Regions from separate parts of the Homo sapiens genome. Here region 2 is linked to region 1. Evidence: promoter capture Hi-C in human tissues and cell types (Jung and others, 2019). All regions are on one chromosome and are shown on one strand. Each heading gives the region's core, a stretch centred on a gene start or on the middle of the fragment in contact. The rest is flanking DNA. Distances are from core to core; before and after follow the strand shown. Region 1 holds the start of NAT8L (N-acetyltransferase 8 like). Region 2 overlaps POLN (DNA polymerase nu).

Region 1 (7,560 bases), core at 2,565-5,064:
CAGGGGATGGCCCCTCTGGCCCCGGCCTCTCCTGGCAGTAGGCCAAGTGGCCAGGCCATCACCCCATCCACAGCACGGCCCAATTCTCACCTCGAGTCAGGCACGAAGCCAGGAGGTGGCGGTCGTGGGGGAGGGGAACCGGCAGGGGAGGAGGAGAGGTGCAGGGGCAGGTTGGGGCGGTTGTGGGAGGGAACCTGCAGGCACTGGCCACAGGGGAAGCCCAGCCACCTCCAGCAGCCAAAGGCAGAGGTGGCACCCAGAGACCTCTCTGAAGACCAAGGGTTTGGCCAGTGGAGGGCCACACAGCCTGCCTGTGGCCCATCCAGCCTCCTACTCAAGGAGGCTCTGCACCTGCCCCGAGCCCCGGGAAGCCCTCCCATCCCTCCCCATTGCCCCTCTGCACAGCCACCAGCCTGCTGGCTCCATGAAGGGGACCTCTGTCTCCTTCACTGCTGGACACTGAGGCCTGGCAGGCAGCTAAAGGGGTACTGAAGGCCCTTCAAGGAGAAGCAGCGTGGGGGGGAGCCACTGGGCACCGCTGCCATCGCCACAGACACGAGCAGCTGGGCCCTCCAAGCTTTGTGCAGCTCCAGGGTTCCCAGGAGGGCTGCCCCTCCTCGGCCCCCTGTCCTGGAGCCCCTGGGGTCTCCCACACCCAACCCCCCATCTCCCTACCCACACAGCATCTCTACCTCCAAGGAGGGGATCCTGGACCAGTATCCCTCCCACCAGCTGGCCTGCCCACCACCCAGGGGTTCTGCCTCTACCTACCCAGGCAAGACGAGAGATCAGGGCCATCCCAGAAGTAGCAACCCCCAGCACCATGTGGCCCTGGGCACACCTCACTCCTCCCAAGACTCGGTTTCCCCATGTGCACAAGCAGCTCCCAGAATCCACCACGGGCCATCAGCAGCTATCCAGCCTCTGCCCTCGTGGGGTGTTCCTGCAGCCCTGCCAGCTACCCCTCCACTCCCTCACACCAGGGAGGCCACGGCCCAGAGGGAGCAGGGCCATGCCCCGTGTGCCCACCGGAGCCCCCTGTGTTGCTGTGGCCTGTGCTTCCTCATGGCCCGTTTCCCCTCCCAAGCAGAGGCTGGCCAGGGCTCAGGGGCTGCTCAGATGCTCTGTTTGGGTTTAGGAAAGGGTCAGGGAGAGCAGCAGGCACCAAGGCCGTGGCGCGGGGGTGGAGCATGGCAGCCAGCGGTGCCAGACACTGCCCCTCCCCTGACACTGACCGGGCTCCTGACAGACCCTGCCCAACCCTTTGGGCCACACTCTGTCCCTCTCGTTGGCCTACAGACGCTCCAGGATCGCAGAGAGCCTCCCACCCCAGAGAGCAGAGTCTTCACCCCTGCGGCATCCGGCATGGGGGAACCGGTGTGGCTCAGCGGCTGGGGGCCAGCCCGAGGGTGGAGAACAACCCCCACCCCCCCTAGAGCCCAGACCCAGCTCCTCCAGCTATAGAAGGCCACAGAGGCTGGGACAAAACCCTTCAGCTAAGCGGCCCAGCGATCAGGCCAGAAGTGAAGGCCAAGGCTCAAGGTCAGGTCCCCTGCCCCCACCCCATCCTCTGTGCCCCAATAGGGTCCCCGGCCCCTGCCACACAAGCCCTCTCCCCCCAGGACCCTGGCACTGCAGGCAACCCCATCCCCGCAAGGCACACCAGATGGGACCCACAGAGCCCAGCGGCCCTTGCCCCACCGCAGCAGGCGCCAGGGAGACGCATCCACAGCAGGGAACGGTGGAGCCACTGCGTCGCAGGGCCAGCTCAGGTCACTCAGCGGGAGGAACCGGCCGTGCCTCCCCCAGCCCCGCTGACACCGGAGGCCTCGGTCACCCAGAAGGCTCAGGTCACAGGGGCCCCGGCTCAGGCCCACCCACGCCGGCCCTCGCCCAGGCCTGCCCTGAGGTCGCTGGAGTGCGTGCCCCCGAGGGCTGTCTGGGGCGGAGGTCGGGGAGCGGCGGGAGCGGGACTCACCGGGCGGCTTCATGTAGTACTGCTCGATGTCCGCCATGTCCGTGTGCAGCGCGCACTCCAGGTAGGCGCGGATCACCTTGCGGCTGTAGTAGTAGCGCAGGCCCAGCAGCGCGGCCGGCACCAGGCACGTCAGCAGCAGCGAGCGGCTCACGGCGAAGCACAGCGCTGGGGGCAGAGGGCGCGGGTCAGCGGCGCGGCGGGGGTCCCCAGGCCCCAGAGACGCCACCCCGGCGAAGCCCGCTAGGGACGCCGCGCCCGGCCGCGCTCCTGGTGGAGGAGCCGGGGTCATCTCGGGTGCTTTCTACTTCTCCCTATTTCCAAGCTTCCTGCGGTGAAGACAGCCACCCCACCCACCCCCACCGCCTGGAATGAGCCTCGGCGGGTCTCTGAGCTTCCAAACACGGCAGGACACCCTCGGGATGGCCGGGCCGGGAAGGACTCTGCCCACGCTGGCCTACTGAAGCCAAGGTGGGCAGATCCTGGCAGGGAGCTGCCCCGCAGACCAGGCCCCGCGCGGGGGAGGGGGGAGGGGGGAGGAGGAAGGGGGGTGTCCCACGTTCCAGCCTCGGGCTCCAGGACCCCCTCTTCCCAGGGCCCCAGCAAGAGCCCTTCCTGGCCAGCGTCCGGGAGCTCTGAGGGCAGGGACAGGGCAGGGAGGCCCCACACCGCTTCCAGCCGCATTTCGGCTGCCGTGACCTTGGGGGAGTCGCGTCCTCCCTACGCGGCCTCAAGCGCCTCATCTGTAAAATGGGAGCGAACCCCCTCACCCCGGCAGGAAGCTCTGAGGGGAAGGGCACCCAAAGACGCTGAAGGGGCCGCCCTCTGCGACCGCCCCGGCTGTGCCAGGCGCGCGCACCCCCCGCGGCGCCGGCTGTCTTCCCCTCATAAATTAGCACCGAGCGGGAGGCGGCCTCCCCCGCCCGCAGATTATATTTAGGCACTCGCCGGGGCCCAGCCGCGGCGGGCGCTACCTGCCCTGGCACCCGCCCCCACCCAGGATGCCCGGGAGGGGACAGGGGAGGCGGTGGGGGTGGGGGGCTGCGCGGCGGGGACGCAGGTGCGGACCCCGGACCCTCCCCGGCTCCGGCCCGCTCGGGGCCCTGCGCCCATCCCCACGCCCATAGCCAGCCCTGCGCGGGGCCCGGCGCGGCAGAAAGCGGGGGGCTTCCCAGGCTGGTCCCCGGGAGCCGGGCGCGGGGTCCGCGTGGACGCCGGGGCGGGGGAGCTCCGCGCCGGCCCGAGGGACTGCGGCAGCCGGGGGCCCGGCGCACTGACCCGCCAGCAGGGCGTAGAGCAGCTGCGCGCGCGGGTGCTGCCGCAGGCCGCGGAAGGCCGTGTTAGGGATGCGCTCCATGATGCCGTCGTAGAAGATGCGGCGCGCCGCCTCCTGCTCGGCCGCACGGAACTCGCGGATGCACACGCCGCGCCCCCCCGGCGGCCCCGCGCCCCCCGCCCCGCCGTGAGGCTGAGCCACCGGGGCAGGTGGGGGCGCGGGGGGCGCGGCGGCCGGCCCGGGCGCGGCGGGCAGCGGGGGCCACATGGCGCCGGCGGCGGCGAGCAGCGCGTCCTTCTTGGCCCCCGGCAGCGCCTCATGGTCCTCGGCGGCCACGATCTTCGTCTCGCAGACCATGTCGGGAGGCCCACAATGCATGCACCCGGCCGGGCGGCGCGGCAGCGGGGACGCGGCCGGGCGGCGGCGGGCACGGCCGGGCCCAGGGCAAGGGCGCGGCGCCCTCGGACCCGCGGCGGCGGCGGCGGCGGCGGCAGCGGCGGCGGCGGCGGCGGCAGCTCAGGGGCGCGGGGCGGAGGCGGCGGGCGGCCGGGGCGCGCGCAGGGAGCTGCGCCGCATTTTGGAGAAGTATTTATAATGCGGCGGCGCCGGTGCAGTCGCGGCGCCCGCGGCCCGCAGGGTCCTAGCGTCCACTGCATTGGCTGCCGGGGGTCACCATGTGATCGCGGGGGTGGGGGAGACGCCGCCCCCGCCTCGCCGGGTGGCTCGCTGGGCGCGACGGGGCGGCCGGGCAGCGCGAGGGGCCCGGCACGGGCGGGGGCGGCGGCGCGGGCGGGGGCTCCTGGCCCGGGGGCGTCCGGCGGGGCTCGGGACCCGGCCGCGGAGCGCGTGATGGGCGCCGCCCGCCCCGCCCCCCGCTCCCACGCCGCGCGCCTGGGAGCGCCCCGACCCCGGGCCCGACCGCTGGCGATCGCGGCGCCACGTCCTCCTCCTCCTCCTCCGCGGCCGCCCGGAGCAGTCACGGCAGCGTCTCCCGCTCCGTCTCCTGCCTTTGTTTGAAAGCAGCGCCCGCGGTGGACCTGGGGAGAGGGCGCCGCGGCTGCCCCGGCCCGGAGCCCCCGGGAAGCCTCGTCCGGAGCCGCACGGGCAGCCGGAGTGGGGACGCGGAAGGGCGGGGTCTGCGGCCTGGCGCGGCGCCCCCCTGTCCGAGCCCCGCAGTGGGCACGGGGATGCGGGGCCCGCAGGACCCCTCCCGGCCCGGCCCCCGCCCCCCGCGGCCGCGCATGCGCCCCGTGGCCTCGGTGCAGGTGCAGCGGGGGCTCTGCGCCTTGTAGGACCTGCAGACGCCGCAGGCTGGGGCGGAGAAGCTCAGGTGCGGGGAGGCGGTCGCAGACCCCATCCTCGGCGCTTCTCGAACCTAGCCCCCTTCAGTTCTGCGCGACCTCCCAGCACCACCCCGAGGGCTGCCGGAGCAGAGCTTCCCCGACATGCGCGGGCGGGACGGGGCCAGGGGTCCAGGCCTGGGGACCCGCAGTCTGCGTTGTGCGGTGGAGTTGGGGCCAGCCGGGCAGCTGAGGTCACCTGAAGGCCAGGAGGGGCTGGGCCTGCCCGTGGACGTGGGAGTGAGGCCGCAGCGCCCTGGTGGGGTGGGGAGGGGCGGCTGAACTGGTCCACAGCCCCGTCCGCCAGAGAACGGGCCCTGGAGAGGGGCAGGGGACGGGGTGGGGGCGTGGGGGGGAGGGGAAGCCAAGCTGGGAAGGCGCCCCCTCAGTGTCTGGGGCCCGCTGTCAGCTTTTCAACCTAAAGGAGAAAACAGGCAAAACGAATAGAAATAGTTTGTTGGGGCCAAGTTTGAGGACTGCAGCGTGGAAGGACAGACTCAGGTTGGTCTGAATGCACGCGCTCTCATTCGCAGCAGTTGCAAGTGCGTTTTTAAAGGAAAAATGAAGACGCAGCTCCTAAATTCACCAAGAATTTGCATTAAAATGGCATAAGCTATTGATTGGTGTACATTATTTGTCACAAATTCCAGGAACATGAAGATGACGCTGAGGCGGCCAGGCGGACACTATAGGAAAGAAAAGAAAGAACAAAATGCCTTCCAGCAGTTGCCCCGGGCGTGAGTGGGGAGGCGGGACTGAGGCCCTGTACTCAGGTGTCTCTGGGCCAGATAATCTTTGAGAATCCCACATAGCTCCGGCTATTTTTCTTTTCTCATTTCTCGTGTTTGATCAAAAATTTTCTCTTCTCAAAGCAGTGATGATCGACATTCTAGATGTAAGTTTTTCTGCTGGGAAGGCTCATTCCCGGGCCATCTCACCCCGCATGGGGGGAAAGAGGACAGGTGCGGTGGGCGCTTAAGAACTTCGTGAGGCCTCAAGGCCAAGGTTGATTGGCACGGGGTCTGTCAGGCCGTCTGCTATGAAGGAGCCACGCATACCGGATGGCTTCTGAGCATCTAGCTAGCATCCTCGGGGTTTTTTGGTTGACTTTGGACATCTAGAAACACAAAGCCTAATCAATTTAAGAATGAAAAATATGGGCCGGGCGTGGTGGCTCATGCCTGTAATCCCAGCACTTTGGGAGGCCGAGGCGTGTGGATCACGTGAGGTCAGGAGTTTGAGACCAGTCTGGGCAACATGGTGAAACTGCGCCTCTACTAAAAATACAAAAATTAGCCGGGTGTGGTGGCAGGCGCCTGTAATCCCAGCTACTTGGGAGGCTGAAGCAGGAGAATCACTTGAACTCGGGAGGCGGAGGTTGCAGTGAGCTGAGATCGTGCCACTGTACTCCAGCCTGGCAACAGACTGAGATTCTGCCTCAAAAACAAGAAAAGAAAAAGAAAAAATGACACAAATAAGGGCAACTATTAACAATTTGAAATCTAGAACTGAAGAGTGCTTCTATTTTTGAAGGTAACCAGATACCTATTTTGTCTCCTTCTGGTCCTGGCCTGAAGAACAAGATGTTGAAGTTCTCCAGTGATGGAAACGACCTCTCTGGCGAGGCTGCCTGGTGTGGTCCCATCTATTGTGGTTGGAGGAAGTCCTATATTTGATGCTTTTCTCATGAAATCTCCAGGTTGGAGACCTTGAACTTTCATGTCTTCATCTCCTGAGAACTCGCCGTTAACAGAATCCTTAATTAATTTAGAATGTGCAGTGAGAAGCTCTATAGGGTCTCGGCAATAATGAAGAATATCGCCTTTAAGGGGAGCTGGTTTGGAGGCTCCTTCATCCAGGCACAGGGCCTTCCTGGTATTATTTCAAAGAGAGAAAGCTGATGTTTTCCAAACAGGGCAGAACCCCAGTTCAGCACCACAGTGGAAACACCTTAGGCCAGGGAGTGTTAGAAGCTGGTTTCAGCATTGCAGATGGGTTTTCTATTATCCCACCTGTGCGTTCCACAGTCTGGAAGATGGAGGAGGGCTGCAAGCACAATGGGAATGCCAATCCCTCCAATCCCAACCAGCTTTCACTATGCAAGGTAAGATGTCAATCAATCTTTTTTCTTTTTTCTTTTTTCTTTTTTTCAGAGAGAGACAAGGTTTCTCCATGTTGTCCAGGCTGGTCTGGAACTCCTGGGCTCAAGCGACCCTCCCACCTCAGCCTCCAAAAGTGCTGGGATTACAGGCATGAGGCACCATGCCTGGCCAATAAATCCTTTTTTTTTTTTTTTTTTGAGATGGATTTTCGCTCTTGTTGCCCAGGCTGGAGTGCAATGGCACCACCTCTGCTCACCACAACCTCCACCTCCTGGGTTCAAGCAGTTCTTCTGCCTCAGCCTCCCGAGTAGCTGGGATTACAGGCATGTGCCACCATGCCCGGCTAATTTTGTATTTTTAGTAGAGACAGGGTTTCTCCATGTTGGTCAGGCTGATCTCAAACTCCCAACCTCAGGCGATCCGCCCGCCTCAGCCTCCCAAAGTGCTGGGATTATAGGCATGAGCCACCGCGCCCAGCCCAATAAATCTTTTATAACGTCTCACAGTTTACCCCATTCTCTTTCTTTCCACAGCTTTCTATATCCACTCTTATCTATCATTCGTTTTTATCCCTTCAACTAAACCTTTAAAAACCTCTAGACAAATTTACTCTTCCCATAACAAAAACCACATTTTCATGCCTTCTTTATAATCTTTACCAAAGACATAACCTATTTTTCTTACATGCTCTGTATTCAGAATTGTTTCTTTTACATCTAGTAGTTTTAATTATATATATAAACTACAGTGTTTTTTGAGACAGGGTCTCCCTGTTCTTGCTCAGGCTGGAGTGCAACGGTGTGATCTTGGCTCACTGCAGCCTCTGCCTCCTGAGCTCAAACAATCCTCCTGCCTCAGCCTCCCAAG
Region 2 (7,560 bases), core at 3,647-6,146, 160 kb before region 1:
AGCAAAGCACAGCAGAGGCCTCATCTCTGACAGCGTCCCTCTAGCACCCTCTGCTGACGGAGCTTAACATCGTGCCAGGTGGCAAAGGAGGTGTATTTTCTGTAGGGCGTGGGGTGCAACGAGGGGTGAATTTGTAGCTGAGAGGCGAATTTGTAGCTGGGAGACAGTATGTTGATAACTGGCACAGGGACGAAAGAGATTCTACTCCAAAGGAACTGCAGGACCTAACTGGCCATATACAAGCAGGCCTGGGAGAGTACCTATGGTGGGCTGGGTCTGAGGGTGCTGGATCAAGGCAGGTGGAACTAAGGTTGGATAAGGGAGAGTTTATTTATGCGGGATCACTTCAGAGACACTGGATTTGACAACCCGATGAAGATTCCAAGAGGTGGTGCCAACATACTGCTAGGATGGCTTTTAGTTCCTTGTAGGAGAGGGTTCATACTAAGTGAAGGAGAAAGATTAGAACTGCCAGGGCAGATGGTAAAAGAAGGCATGAAAAGCCAGGAGAGGTGGACATGCTAGAATGGCCATATTGTGGAGGGCTGGGAAACTCAGCAGGTAACATTGTTCTGCAGAAGGGCGCTCTGGATGCTCTATTTACCGAAGCAATAATGAAAGCTGATGAGGGAGTGGGGAGCATCGGCTTCACTGAGAATCTCAGTGGTGTCTGCTATAGACCAGGGCTGATAATAGGAGATGCCTCCTGATAACAGTCAGGGAGATAGGATCCTGACATAGAGGCCAGGTGGTGCTGCCTGTCAGAAGCAGGGTAGATACAGTTCTCGTAAAGTGACTTCAGACCTGGAACCAACTGACTGAAGGAGAGGCCAGGTCCCCAGGAGGAAGGATTATGCAACACCATAGTGAGTGTATATGGCAGTTATTTTTCCTGTCTTTCCGCCAGGGAAACCTGTGGCCATTTACTCTGGGAACTTATACAAGGGGGAAAGGGATACTGAAACATTCATATGATATTGATACCTGGAGACCTAAAGTATCATCATGGTTTCTCCGTCAGAGGCGCAAGGACTCAAGCAATAAATGGAACCTTGGCCCAGATTACACTATAATGGGAGGGCTCACTCCGAAGCCATTTTCCAAGTCCCCACATGTTATTTGGAATGAACAGACTGTTGGAAGAACCCTCAGGTACTGGCTCCTTGGCCTGAGGATGAGAGCTCTCCTAGTGAGTAAGCTCAAGTGGATGACGCTGAAACTGCCTTCCCAGCAAAGATAGTGAATTAGTATAGCAATATGGCAACCTAGGAGAAATGGCAGAAGTTAGTGCCATCCTTAAACCCCTACAGGATTCAGGGCACAGGGTGGTCCCTGTCATATGTTCATTTAATTCACCAGGTAGGTGCTCACAGAAGTCAGATCCTGGAGAATAACAATTGACACCACAAATAGTTGTGACCAAGTTATAGCCCTAATGACAGCTGGTGGGCTGGATGTGGCATATGCAATTAACAAGGCCTCAGGTATATGAAATGCAATTATTGATTTGGTGAACACATTCTTTTCCATCCCTGCAGAAATATTCACTCTGAATGGACAATATAAATTTGCACCTTGCCCCAGTGCTATGTTATCCCGCCACCCACTGTTTTGATGACATCATGCCAATCAGCATAAGCAAGAAATGGCAAGTTTGTTAGCTGTCTTGCTGTCCAAAACATGGGAGATAAGCACACAGATATTCTGGGGCCCACCACAACCATGAAGTTTTTGGAAGTTCAGTGGTCTGAGGATAGGTAGGATATCCCCTTGCAAGTAAAGGACAAATTAGTGCCTTTTTTTTTTTAAGGCAGTTTCACCCTTGTTGCCCAGGCTGGAGTGCAATGGCACAATCTCAGCTCACCACAACCTCCGCCTTCCAGGTTCAAGCGATTCTCCTGCCTCAGCCTCCCAAGTAGCTGGGATCACAGGGATGCGCCACCATGCCTGGCTAATTTTTTTTTTTTTTTTTTGTATTTTTAGTAGAGACGGGCTTTCTCCATGTTGGTCAGGGTGGTCTCGAACTCCCGACCTTAGATGATCCGCCTGCCTTGGCCTCCCAAAGTGCTGGGATTACAGGCATGAGCCACCACGCCTGGCCACCTTTTTTTATTTTTTATTTTTCCCCAAGAGACTGGGTCTTACTGTGTTGCTCAGGCTGGCCTCAAACTCTTGGGGTCAAAGTGATCTGCTTCAGTCTCCCGAGTAGCTGGGACTACAAGTGCACACCTGGCTAAATTACTGCATTTTTAAGAATGAAGCATTAAGAATGAAGATGTTAACTGGTCGAGTCATCCTGCAACGTGGTTAACCACATAACCATTAAGAGTGAACCATAACACCTGATAGGCATCTCTGGGTTTAGGGAGTGGAGGCAGCATATTCCACATTGGGAATACTGCATAGGAAAGCATCCTGTAAGAGGCCTAGGCTGTGAAGCAAGTGGCTCAGCTACTTGGACTTCCAACCCAACAGACCTTGTGATGTTAGAGGTATCTGTAGTGGGGAAAGATGCCATGTGAAGCTTAAGGCAAAGCCCCAACAGAAGAATCTCAATGCAGACTCCTAGAACTCTGGAGCAAGGCAATGCTATCTGCAGAAACAAATTATAAATTTTTCAAAAACAAAACTGTCATGCTACTGGGCCCTGGTAGAGATGGAGCGTGAGGCCATGGTGACATCAAGTGACCATGAGCCAGAACTGCCAGCATGAGCTGGTTCTGTCAGACCCACTGAGAGGTGGGCATGCAGCTGTCCATTGCAAGTTGGAAGTGGCTCATTTAGTACTAGGTACAAGCAGGCACAACCAAGCTTTTCATGTGGCCCAGAACCCATGACATCATTGGTGCTGGCACTGGTACTTCTGACGGGGGCAGCCTTAAGACCAGCTGATGGAGGCAGGAAAAGTTAGAGCTTGGTTCATGGTGGGTGGGCTCTGAACAGCCTGATTTAGGCAGCCCTGGAAGACAGTGCTCAAGGGAAACCCAATGGGTAGAACGTTGGGTGGTGCCCCTTGACTATCTACTTTGTGTGGAAGGAGAAGTGGCCCCAGTGTTAACACATTTGGAACTCTTGGGCAGCGGTTAGTGGCTTGACAGGTTGCTCAGGTACCTGGAATGAGAAAGATTGGAAGATCAGGGAGTTCCTGGAGTAAGGCATGTGGAGGGATCTGTGGGAACAGTCACGAAGTACTTCCCACCCAAGAACATTCACCATGGGGACACACCAAACCACCACATTAATAGGATGACTTGGCCAGTTGACATCTAGCCTCTGCCATCTGCTGCGCCCATGCTGGCACACTGGGCTCTCTCATGGAGTAATCATGGGGTGGGTAGATGCTGTGCATGGCCCATAGCATGGGGCTCCCCCTCACCAGAGCTGACCTAGCTATTTCTCTGCAGAACATCCAATCTTCCAGCAACAGAGACCAAACACTGAGTCCCCAGTTGTACCTTCCTTGGAGGGAAACAGTCATTTGACAACACTGAACCCCTTGTGCCCTAGAAGGTACAGTGATTCATCTTGGCCAGAACCAACACACGTTACAGGCATGGGTTTGCCTTTCCCATTCTCATGGATTCAGTCAGCTCCATCACCCAAGTTTCACAGAGTGTTTGATCCACAGGATCCTGCGCTCAGCCAAGGAACTGCAGCAGTGGGCACATGAGAGTAGGACTCACTGTCTCCCTCACAGCCACACACCAAGAAGCTGCCAGCCTGATGGAGCAGCAGGATGGTCTGTGGAAGGCACAGCTCACCTCGTGTGCAGCCTGGAGGTGACACCTGTGATGAAGCAGTCACCTCCAGGGTGCAGTCTGCACTGCAAATCACTAACCAGTACGTGGTGCAGTGTCCTTGGTTTGTGTAATAAATGGGTCTGGGAACCAAAAGGTGAAAGTCATCACTCCCAGTGACCCACTTAGAAATCTGTATTTCTCCCTCACACTCCTCTGGGTTCTTAAGGTTTAAAGGTCTTGACTCTCAAAGGGAAAACCTTTCCAGCAGGGGCACAGGAAGAACGCCATTTAATTTCCAGCTGTGGCTGCTGTCTGGTCATTTTGAGCTCCTTGTGCCAAGAGACTGGCTGGCAAGGAATGTAATTTCCATCTTCTGGGGTGGCTGACCGTGGGCGTCAGGTGGAGGTAGAGCTGTTACTACATAACTGGGGGCAGGGAAGCACCCAGGTGATGTGATTGGCCACCTCATGGTCCCCTGCCCAAATTTGATGGCAAATGCTGGGGCTATGGCCAGAGAAGGGCATGGTGGCCAGGGGCTTACCTCTCAGGGATGAGGGTTTGGGTTACCTGATCAGGTAAGCTAAGCCACCTAGAGCAGCAGAGGAGATAGGCAAGGGTGAGGAGTTAGCATGGGCAGTAGAGGAGGGAGATGAATGTAATTTGCAACCTTGAGGCCAGCTGCAGCAAGATGTAGTTCATCCCAGTGCCTTCCTTTTATAAATTTCCCAAGGAAAAGGCCCGCCAGAATCCTACAGGAGCTGCTCCCAGAACGTCCCTGAAGCAAGTGGCTATGAGCAGTGCAGTGTGGAGTGTAGCAAGCACTGTGGTTCCCATATGCCCCTTTAGTACTGAAGCACTGTCCCTGCTCCTGGGACAGCCCCTCCCTGATTGCCTGGCTGCAAAGAACTTCTTTGCCCAAGGGCCCACCCCTTCCCCAGGAGTGACTGGTCCAGTGACTAGTTTGTGCAGGGGTATAAAAGCCCAGCTGTCTTGACCCATTGGGAGACACATCTGTAGGACCATGCTCAGCTCAGGGCAGGCCTTTGAGTGACTGCATCTTAGCCATTGTCTTCCTTGGTTGGATTCTGCTTCCTTCACTCTCCAATCACCTTTTCAAATGCAAACCTTCATCACAGAGGTGGTCTCCCAGGGTACCCGAGTGTTATGTGCGTAACATCTTCGTGTGCATAAGCGGGGAGATTTGGTCATTATTTTTAAAAATGAGGTCATCATCTTCAGTCAACCACTATAGCTGGAGTCATTTTCCCCCCTGCAATCTATGTTTTAACAAGGTCATTCTTTTTAGTGGCTATGTATTTCATGATGTGGATATTATGTAATTTATTCCTCAGTTTTCTTCTGATTGGTATCTACTTTATTTTCAGTCCTTTGCCATAATGAGCAATACTGCTATAAACATTTTGGTTTAAACCTGTTTACTGTTGCATATATTTCTGTGAAACAGCCAAGAGTGAGATTATTTGGTTAGAGATTATTTGGTTAGATGATGGATATTATTTCCTATCTGTTTTTGTTAAGGCAAGAGCACTCTGTCTCTCATATATATATGGCTGAGGTATATACATATATATGTATATGTATATACATATATATGTATATGTATGTGTATATGTGTGTGTGTATATATATAAAACAGCACACATATCCTAAGTTTAGTTTAGGTCAAAATTTCACAAACCCAAACCCAGTTCAGGAAACATAACTAGCATTCCCAGAGGCCCATCTTGAGCTCCCTGTGGGTCACTTTCTCCACCCAACTCCCAAAGTGATGTATGCATTATTAATTTTAATAAGTCTTGACAGTTTGCCTTCTAGAAAGAGTCTATTTACATTTTTACCAGCAATACATGAGACTACCTCTTCCCCTGTGTTTCCAGTTATAGTTAATTTGCGTTTCCCTGAGTATTGTATTTGTTTCCTCTTTGGGTTTTCTGTTTTGTGTATTGCCTCTTCCTATTCTTTGCTCATTTTTCTGTTGAATTGTTTGTCTTATCTTGTAAATGTATGAGAACTTGTTGTATAATATAGCAGTTAACCCTTTGTCATTTTTGTTCCAAATAGTTTTCCCAATGCATTTATTTTCTTTTTGATGTGGTGCTAGTTATACCAGCCCTATTAATTAATCTATCCTTTTCTATTGAATTGAAATACTATCTTTGTTGTATATAAAGTCTTGGGATCAGTCTCTGGGTTGTCTGTTCTCTTCTAGAGGTCTTTTCTCTCTCTCTTTTTTAAGCTTACTTTTTTTTTTCCCAGGACAGAGTCTTGCCCTGTAACCCAGGCTGGAGTGCAGTGGCGCAATCTCGGCTCACTGCAACCTCCACCTCCCGGGTTCAAGCAATTCTCCTGCCTCAGCCTCCCAAGTAGATGGGATTGCAGGTGCTTGCCACCACACCTGGCTAATTTTTGTATTTTTAGTAGAGGTGGGGTTTCACCATTTTGGCCAAGCTGGTCTCGAGCTCCTGACCTGAGGTGATCCACCCACCTCAGCCTCCCAAAGTGCTGGGATCACAGGCGTGAGTCACCACGCCCGGCCTAAGCTTACATTTCTTGTCTTTTCGTACTTTGAAATTATTTTATTAAATTAAAATATCCCTGTAGGGTCTCCAATTGGAATTGCCTTAAATTTAGAAGAATTAAACATTTTGTGATCTATATCCTAATGCTGTGTCTTTTCATTTGTACAGATCTTTTTTTATGCCATTTAATAAGATTTTACATTTTCATCATTGAGGGCCTTGTATCTTTTTTGTTATATTTATCCTAAGTATAATGTTTTTATATTGTAAGTGAAATATTTTCCCCTATTTGCATTTCAGGTTGTTATTGTTCCTGCAGAGGAAATGTATGTCACAGTGGTTAAGAGCACAGACTCCCAAATCCTATTGCCTGGGATTGGATCCTGGTTCTGTCACTTACTGTTCAGCCCAGGCTTATTGAAATTAAATCAAAATCTAAATTAGAAGTTTGTTTTAATGATGTTTTACTGAACCTTCAATTGTTCCACTGCAGTATTCAGTCTAAGAATTTCCCCAAACCTTTAATCCTTTTAAGGTTTCTATAAAAGTTGACCTTGGGTTTTTAGAGTCATGTATTCAAATGCAAATGTCAAATAATGATTTTTAATAAATGTTTTATGATTATATAGAGTTATCTTCAGTTAACTTGAAGGTACTTTACATAAATATTTATTGCAATGGTACTAAGCATTTTACTTGTGAATTTTATTACATTGTTTTAAGTAAGTTAATAATGAATAAATAAGCATGATTATAGAGGTTATTTCAGTGTTTAGTTAACTGTGTGACTTAGATATCAATGTTTCTTTAATGCCCCATGTTTCTTTTTTGTTGTTTTTAAAAGCTATGGAAGTGATAAACAAGTCCAGTGTTAAGTATTCAGTACAACTTGAAGACAGGAAGACTCAATCACCAGAAAAAAAGGTAAATCATTGCACATATGAGTAATTTTAAATAGATAACTTATTTGTTCAATAGATGCTTATTAAGTGTTCTACTGTGTGCTAGGCACTGTAGATACCACACCTTAAAAAAAAAAAAAGAGGCGTTCTTGCTCTCCAAGAACTTATAGTTTAATTTGGATGCAGGGAGGGGCAAGTAGGTGCCATGAGAGAAGTTAGTTCAGAGTGCTCTGGGGACAATAGGAGGAACATCTAACTCAGTTTTTGTGCTATTTCATTTTGCCCTCCTGGGTGTTGAGGAGAAGAGTCAGGGATGTCTTTCTGAAGTATGAAAATTATATCTGAGTTGAGATCTATTGGATAATTAGGAGGTGATCG

Evidence for each region. The method cuts DNA at HindIII sites, captures the fragments that hold promoters and counts their contacts. A contact is called where the count stands out against the background at its distance.
Region 2: a contact is called between a fragment that was not itself captured here and the fragment with the promoter of NAT8L in region 1, in 2 of the 25 tissues and cell types used here (bladder and dorsolateral prefrontal cortex).

The regions. Positions count from the first base shown.
Region 1 is chr4:2,055,581-2,063,140 of GRCh38, reverse strand. NAT8L (N-acetyltransferase 8 like) reads right to left here and starts at 3,814. Exons shown (of 3, transcript NM_178557.4): 1 at 3,254-3,814; 2 at 1,979-2,143. The coding sequence starts at 3,629. The HindIII fragment of the contact is 12,290 bases long and covers 1,440-7,560 here.
Region 2 is chr4:2,212,691-2,220,250 of GRCh38, reverse strand. It overlaps POLN (DNA polymerase nu), which reads left to right. Exons shown (of 26, transcript NM_181808.4): 4 at 7,125-7,204. Among named protein-coding and RNA genes, the nearest start is that of HAUS3, 26 kb to the left of the region's middle. RefSeq lists silencers at 32-121, 4,475-4,769. The HindIII fragment of the contact is 4,456 bases long and covers 2,669-7,124 here.